Linked DNA regions of Homo sapiens: regions 1 and 2 are each linked to region 3. The links are contacts of gene promoters, found by promoter capture Hi-C in human tissues and cell types (Jung and others, 2019). All regions are on one chromosome and are shown on one strand. Each heading gives the region's core, a stretch centred on a gene start or on the middle of the fragment in contact. The rest is flanking DNA. Distances are from core to core; before and after follow the strand shown. Region 1 overlaps SMARCE1 (SWI/SNF related BAF chromatin remodeling complex subunit E1). Region 2 holds the start of KRT26 (keratin 26). Region 3 holds the start of KRT15 (keratin 15).

Evidence for each region. The method cuts DNA at HindIII sites, captures the fragments that hold promoters and counts their contacts. A contact is called where the count stands out against the background at its distance.
Region 1: a contact is called between a fragment that was not itself captured here and the fragment with the promoter of KRT15 in region 3, in 1 of the 25 tissues and cell types used here (neural progenitor cells).
Region 2: a contact is called between the fragment with the promoter of KRT26 here and the fragment with the promoter of KRT15 in region 3, in 1 of the 25 tissues and cell types used here (lymphoblastoid cells).

The regions. Positions count from the first base shown.
Region 1 is chr17:40,639,996-40,642,695 of GRCh38, reverse strand. SMARCE1 (SWI/SNF related BAF chromatin remodeling complex subunit E1) reads left to right here. Exons shown (of 11, transcript NM_003079.5): 4 at 137-241. Among named protein-coding and RNA genes, the nearest start is that of SMARCE1, 6.5 kb to the left of the region's middle. The HindIII fragment of the contact is 4,314 bases long and covers 1-2,700 here.
Region 2 is chr17:40,770,822-40,773,521 of GRCh38, reverse strand. KRT26 (keratin 26) reads left to right here and starts at 1,321. Exons shown (of 8, transcript NM_181539.5): 1 at 1,321-1,849; 2 at 2,286-2,368. The coding sequence starts at 1,409. The HindIII fragment of the contact is 6,204 bases long and covers 1-2,286 here.
Region 3 is chr17:41,517,522-41,520,221 of GRCh38, reverse strand. It overlaps KRT15 (keratin 15), which reads left to right and starts at 1,332. Exons shown (of 8, transcript NM_002275.4): 1 at 1,332-1,892. The coding sequence starts at 1,395. RefSeq lists enhancers at 1-992, 2,697-2,700. The HindIII fragment of the contact is 25,725 bases long and covers 1-2,700 here.

The sequences.
Region 1 (2,700 bases), core at 12-2,511, 880 kb after region 3:
AACAATTACAACACATCATTGCTTGTTTAAATTCAGGTTGCTTTTGCATGCCATATGCAGATCATTTTTCATTTCTGTGTTTTCCTCGTTTGAGCTCATTTCTCATTCGTGTTTTTGTCTCATTTGTTTCCATCAGCAAATGCCCAGCACACCAGGGTTTGTGGGATACAATCCATACAGTCATCTCGCCTACAACAACTACAGGCTGGGAGGGAACCCGGGCACCAACAGCCGGGTCACGGTAGGAGAATCAACTATTACAGCATCCGGCAAACAACTGGAATTGACCAGAAATGCCTTCAGAATTAGGTCTTTTTGAATCATAAGCACAGCCATTTAAAAAAAATTTTTTAACCTAGCTTTTTGAGTATTTTCAACATTCGTTGTAGCATCTCACACTGAAAAAATAAATAGTGAGATCTGGAATGTATATAGAAGAAAAGAAAAATCCATTCTGTTTGGTGGTTGGTAGGGTTAAAGCCTTGAGCACTTGATGCTTATACTGTATGTAAACAAACAGAATTTCTTAAGGTAAAAATATCCTTTTTGACATAAAGAGTATTTTTCATTTTTATAAGGTGATTGGCATTAGTCTCAAGGATTGAGTTTCTAGTAGAGGCTGGTCTTTCAGACCTGGCTTTTTCAGGGCTGGAAAGCTTTTGGCTGGTACACCAGTTTGAATCGCTACCCATAGTTATTTGTCTTTTGGATTTAGTAGTTGACCTTCTAACTAAGACTCATTTCTCTACAGTGAAAAAGAGAAAAACGTTTTAATGTCACCTCAAAGAAATGCAGAGTGAAGGTTGAATGAAATTAATTTGAAGTATCAGACTAGATATGTACAACGAGAAGTGCATTTCTAATCCTTAGTATAAGAGATAGGATTTCTGAAACTTAGCATGTTTCATTTAAGTGATCAGCCTAAGATATCAAAATTGGATGATACACTTCAAATCTTTTAGTTTAGAATCATCTTAAATTTCATTCAAAAAAGTTTAAGCACCAAAAAATGCCAATAATTATAAAAATGACTTACTAAAGATAAAAAATCCAAAAGTCAAATACTACATTGGAATGTAGTGTTGGTGAGAATTTATACAACCCAGAATGGCTGTAAAGTTTTTAATACCTGGTTTTTGTTTGCTGTATTCATAAATAACAAGTGCCTTCTATTAATGTAACTTCAAAAAAGCCCTCTCACCCTGTAGTCAAGCTGGAACTGAAAGCTTGTAGCTATCAAATGAATGTCTATCTTGATAAGCATATTGCTTAGCTTGATAGGTTTTGTTTGTCTAAATTTTTCATTGTTTCTGCATAATATGTACTTCATAAGCATATCAAGTTTTATGTGCCATGCATATTTCATGGTATCTGAAAAAGAATTCTGACAAAGTGTGTGTATGTATGCATTTCACAATGCATACAATTTTTATGTGCATCAATACATGTTTTTCCCTGGCCTAAACATGTTGTTTCACAAGTGTAATGGATGGCAAGGTTTTCAAATGATAAAGAACATTTCAGTTTAAACAATGAACGGAATCAATCATGGATCTTAATGTTAATGCAGCAATTTTTTCACGGGCAGTAAACAAGAATGATTGCATTTAATAGCTCTATACAGTCACCTCTTGATTATCTATGTTAATGGAATAGAAATGATAACTATAATATTACAGTAATTTGTCTTTTGGTTTTGTGTAAGTATTTTGCTCTTAACTTGGATGTAGCTGTGGGGGATTCTCAGTTAAAAAAGTGAGATTGTTCGATGGAGACTAGGAAGAGAAAGTGTACTCCCTATCTGAAGTCACTCATCTGTTTCTTCCCATTCCTTCTTGGCGAATGTTAAGAACTGAACATTTGGCGTGGACACTAGCTACATAGTAGATTAATTATAGAGAGTTGTTGGACATGGAAAATTTGGTGTTTTGGTCCTTTGTGGACATTTACTTTGTATTATTGTCCTCTTAACACCAAATTGAAGTATAATCAAACTGCTATATGAAGAAGGGCCTAGAAAATGTGGAGGTTTTACACTACTTGCCCTGCTTTCTATATCTAGTTTAAGCTGTTAGGACTCAATGGCTCTGATTTTGACCATAATAAAAGCATTTTGATTTTACTATGACCCTAGTTATGCATTACTTTTGGGGGTGAGGGGAAGCTCCTGTATGGTATTGTTGTGCGCAGATTGCATTAGTGGTTTTCAAGGAACGAATCTGTGAAGCCCTGTCCAGTAGCTTGTGGTAGGCTGTAGAGAACATTGGGTTTCCCTGATGACTCCAGTATACTTGGGTAGTTCTCAGACAGTAAATACTTTGTATAGCATGTCGAGACCTTTTGGAGTGCTTATGATAGCTACAAGATGGAATTCACTCCTAGTCAGTTCTTCATTCAGATGATGATTAACATTCTCTTAAGTACAGGTGTGAAAACACATTGAGACAAAAATGTCTTTAAAAACAGCCTATTTCTGTACATTAATAGAAATTCTGCCCCAGAAGAAAGCTCTTAAATAAGTTCTTGCTAGAGAAACAGCTGAGAATTGCAAAAGAAACAACAACAAAAAACTGAGTAACCAAGATAAATTTCACAAAACCATGAACTTTATTCATAGGAGATTTCCTAGGACCTTGCTCTTCTGTAAGCACAGTTCTACCCGCCTCCCCATTGGAAATTGAAAGCAGAAAATTGGAAAGA
Region 2 (2,700 bases), core at 72-2,571, 750 kb after region 3:
TTCACTATCCACAACATTGAAAAATATCATTCGGAAGAAAATTACTGTTTCAAAACTAAACCCATAATTAGTTAACCAATCAATTTGTATCATTATAGGTGATAGAGACCCGACCCTGTCTGACATGTCCACTTTATTATAATAATTTAAATAATTAACATTTAAAAATGTTTGTGCCTTTCAAACTGTCTTATCGTCATTCATGATTGGAACTGCTCAACATTCATTTGAGACTCTTTGATGCTATTATTTTCATTTGCCCAGTAGGGAAATGATCCAAGCCTGGATAACTTCCCAAGAGCATCAAGGCAAGAGAATAAAGAGTACTTCCCTGTGACAACTTATCTTCTCTCTAGGGTACTATAAGTACTGGTTTTCTAGGTAATGATGAAAACACCTCCCTCCTTATATATTTTACTCCTTGCTAATCAATATGATGCTCACTTCTCAAAATAATTCCTAATGTCTTAAATACATACATTTAAACTAAAAGACAGTAAACACTATTTAGGGGTAGGGAAGTGAACAATTTGGAGACTGTTAGTTGAATTGATGTCCTGCTCCTGGACCAAACCAAGAAATCTCAATCGAATTAATTCTCCACCATCATCACATATTCATGAATTATATTGAAATTAACAATAAGCAGGACTGCAGGATTTCTATTACTTCAGTTTTCAATTCAAGAAATGGTAGATTTCTTTTAAAATCTCCCACTACCAAAAGATCAATAGATGCTGAGATTTTCTGGTTTTGATAAGAAGGAAAACACACACCCAGACACCCAGGGCAGTGGCTCACACCTGTAATGCTGGCCACAGGAGGCTGAGCTGGGTGCTGAGGCTGAGGATCACTGGAGGCCAGGAGTTCGAGACCAGCCTGGGAAACATAGCGAGACCACATATCTTTAAAAAAAGGAAAAAAGAAAAAGAAACGAAAGGAAGAAAGGAAGCACTCAATGAAGTGGGAATACTAGAAATACTCTATGAGCGTTAACAGGACAAAAGTAGGAGACATTTCTCATTGGAATTATTAATTCTTTGTTATATGTGGCAGGGGGAGAATCTAGATTCTATTAATATTCCAGTGGCCAAAAAGATGCACATTTAGTCATATTTAATTTTGGCCTTTGAGGCTATGATTTAGTTTTACTTCACCTGGCACCATTTTTATATATAAAAAATATCCTTGGGGCACCTTTCCACCTACAGACTGGACGCTGTTAAAAATTACCCAATTGTGAAAAACAACAATTAGGATGCAAGTAAATTTTATTACAGACTGGCATAGTCAAGACTGAAATGACCCAGTGAATACTATAAAAGGCCAAGGGAGCTAACAAGTGTGGAAGGTGAACCCTGGCTTTGCTCCTCTTTCTGGGAAGGGGTTGCCCGGCTGTGCTGCCACCATGTCTTTTCGACTTTCTGGTGGATCCAGGAGGATCTGCTCGCGAACTGGGTCTGGTAGGCTGTCCGGTGGAGGAACAGGCTTCGTGGCTGGGAATGTGTGTGTTGGATCGGGAGCAAGAAGCAGCTTTTCTTGTACTCTTGAGGGCATCTCTTCTGGAGGAAGCTTCTGCAATAGCGGTGGAGGGTTGGGAAGTGGTGCCTGTGCTGGTTTTCTTGGCAATGAGCACAGCCTCCTCTCTGGGAATGAAAAGGTGACCATGCAGAATCTCAACGACCGCCTGGCATCCTACCTGGACCATGTGCATGCTCTAGAGGAGGCCAACGCAGACCTGGAGCAGAAGATCAAGGGCTGGTACGAGAAATGTGAGCCTGGCTCTTCCCGGGAACACGATCATGACTATAGCAGATACTTCTCAGTCATAGAAGATCTTAAAAGGCAGGTAAGAAATAGGGATTTGCATACTTTTACTACAGACTTTGTGTGTTGATAATTTAAAGAAGAGAAAATATAAAATGTGCCTAACAAATTTATGTGATGTAAGATTTGTTCACTCTGTATTTCCAGTGCTAAGCACAGTACCTGGCAATAAAATCTTGTAGAATTAAATAATGAAAAAGAAATCATTTCAAAACAGATATAGTCACTTCGTTTTTCATATATTTAGCTCATACCATTTGATCAAAAGTAGTAAAAGTATCTATGTGGCTCTTAAGCTCTGGATGCTTATTATCTGAAGAAAATCCAGATTTCTTTAACATAGAAAAAAGATACTAAAACAGATGTTTGACAGATTAAGAAGATATAAAATCACACTGAAGTCTGGAGCCTCCTTTGACTTTTGGTAATTAACATTTTTCACAATCTTCCCTATTTAGATTATTTCTGCGACCATCTGCAATGCCAGCATTGTTCTACAAAATGACAATGCCAGACTGACCGCTGATGACTTCAGGCTGAAGTAGGTGAAAACAAACTGATTAATTATATTAATAAAAGTTAAAATATTACAATTGGATTAAGGAATATATATTTTGCTTTGAAAACCAAAATGTTTTTCTAAAGCCAGACTAGATCAATAAAGAAATTGAATTAAATAAGCCGTTATAAAAAGAGCTATCATGGTTGGATAGAGTAGCTCATGCCTGTAATCCCAGCACCTTGGGAGGCTGAGGCAGGCAGATCACTTGAGGTCAGGAGTTTGAGACCAGCCTGGCCAATGTGGCAAGACCCCGTCTCTACTAAAAGTACACACACAAAAAAATAGTCAGGCATGGTGGCTCACTCCTGTAA
Region 3 (2,700 bases), core at 83-2,582:
AACCCAGGCCTCACAGTCTTACCATGATAATTGATAAAGCCAGGATTCAAACCCGGGCCTGAGGGACTCCAGAGCCCTGTCCACTTCACCATGCTGCAACCTGGGCTAGGAATCCTCCTCCTGAGTTTCTGTAAGCCCTGGGGCCAGGTCCAGAGGGCTGAGCCACACCTCCAAGTGGCACTGCCCACAGGTATCAGGTGTCCCTGGAAAGGTGTCCCTGAGCTGGTGGCAGAGAAAAGGGCTCTCCTGAGTGTTCAACTCCCCGTCTGTGTGAAGCAATGCCTTGGTCTTCAAGATCTCCGGTGTCTTCCAGCCTGCCTGCCAGTCTCCCTTCTCTTCCCTTCCACAGCATTCAGGCACATAGAGCCTTCTGCAGCGGCCCGTCCCCAGCCAGCACTTGACAGGACAGATGGGGGCTAATCTGGCCCTGCTAAGCAGCGACATGCCTCTCCTGGAGAAGGCAGGGGCTTCCTGGAACTTGCCCCAGCCTTATCAGCGGAGGTTTGCCCCAACACATCCCAGAAACGAGCAAAGGTTCAGCGCCGTGCAGTTGGCAGGTGTCGGGATCATCAGTCATCCCCTTGTCAGTCCCAAGCCTGCTGGGCTTTTGTGAGGGTGCCAGGAACACAGGCTGGAGGATGGCAGGAGGGGAGTAGAGGTGGGAGGAGGGGAGTCCATCTGCAGCACCAGGTAAGGGGATGGATGCTGGCTCCTCTGGTCACCTCAGCTGGAACACTACTCAAGGTCCCTGGCTCCTGTCCTCCACCTGCCCCCAGGGGCCCTGCATTCCCATCCCCAGGGCCTCCACTCTCCCTGAGCCCTGCAGTCTCTCACTCACTCACTCACTCACTCATTCACTCACTCACTCACTCACAGGGTTTTGAGTTGGATAACACAGCATAATGATCGGCCAGTGGACTCCCAAACTAAGAACACGGAGCTGTCCTCTTGGGGAGAGGCTCAGGGCTCGGGGAAGTGAAGTCCAGCTGAGGGCACAGTTGGCCTGAGCTGCTCTCAGTACAGGCAGAGGCCTTGGTAGCTGTGCTGTGATGAGAGTTCGCTCCCTGCTGCTCTCTTCTGGCATGGAGAGATGAACCTGTAATCCAAGTGTTAAAACCGTGCCCTGGGGAAAAACACTATTAATTCTGAATCATCTCTTTTGTTGCATTAAAAAAAAATAGAAGAGAAAAACTTCACATGACCCACTCAAGGTGTGCAGGCAGCTGTGTTTGTCAGGAAGGCAGAAGGAGTTGGCTTTGCTTTAGGGGAGGAGACGAGGTCCCACAACACCCTCTGAAGGGTATATAAGGAGCCCCAGCGTGCAGCCTGGCCTGGTACCTCCTGCCAGCATCTCTTGGGTTTGCTGAGAACTCACGGGCTCCAGCTACCTGGCCATGACCACCACATTTCTGCAAACTTCTTCCTCCACCTTTGGGGGTGGCTCAACCCGAGGGGGTTCCCTCCTGGCTGGGGGAGGTGGCTTTGGTGGGGGGAGTCTCTCTGGGGGAGGTGGAAGCCGAAGTATCTCAGCTTCTTCTGCTAGGTTTGTCTCTTCAGGGTCAGGAGGAGGATATGGGGGTGGCATGAGGGTCTGTGGCTTTGGTGGAGGGGCTGGTAGTGTTTTCGGTGGAGGCTTTGGAGGGGGCGTTGGTGGGGGTTTTGGTGGTGGCTTTGGTGGTGGCGATGGTGGTCTCCTCTCTGGCAATGAGAAAATTACCATGCAGAACCTCAATGACCGCCTGGCCTCCTACCTGGACAAGGTACGTGCCCTGGAGGAGGCCAATGCTGACCTGGAGGTGAAGATCCATGACTGGTACCAGAAGCAGACCCCAACCAGCCCAGAATGCGACTACAGCCAATACTTCAAGACCATTGAAGAGCTCCGGGACAAGGTGAGTCCTCGGATGTCAAAGAGAGGGGAGCAGGTGGCTGGTACCCTGTACACAGCTCTAATGTCAGTGTTACTGCTGACTCAAGGAAATCCTTTCCTGCCCAGGCAATGACTGTCTGGTATGTAATCTCAGCAAATTTGGAATGCACCTGCTGTCCAGGTGCAGAGGCCAGTGCACATCTTCTCAACTTGGTGGTGCTGGGGGAGGGAGAGAGGGGTCTTGGGAATCTGGTTAGGACCAACAGGGGCACAGGTGGGGGCAATTATAAAGAGCCAGAGGCAGTAGCTCACACCTGTAATCCCAGTGCTTTGGGGGGCCAAGGTGATAGGATTGCTCGTGTCCAGGATTTAGAGGCTGCAGTGAGCTATGACTGTGCCACTGCACTCCGGCCTAGGTGACAGAGTGGAACCTGTATCTAATTAAATAAAAATAATTAAAAAAAAAGAGCAACTCGCCCTCCCTACCTCATGCACCCTGCAGGCTTCTGCATAAAGTATTCCTTTACCTCTTTTGCAAGAATGGGATTGGAGTGTGGCCTCATGAGTTCCAGATGCTAGAACCTCTTGTCTTTTCCTATAAAGAGGTCTTTTGTGCCAAAAGTACTGTTGGGTCTTAGGAGACCTGGGAACTCATTACACATTCTGCCACCCACTCACTCACCATTTTACTCCCTAAGACTGGGTTCCTCATTCGTAAAATGCCTTCTTAACTGCCCTCCAGGTTGCTACTGGCTGGAATGTTCTGTAGATCCATGGCTGTGTCCAAGGTGTGCAGGAGGCAGTGACCATGAGTTGTCCACAGTGGGGCT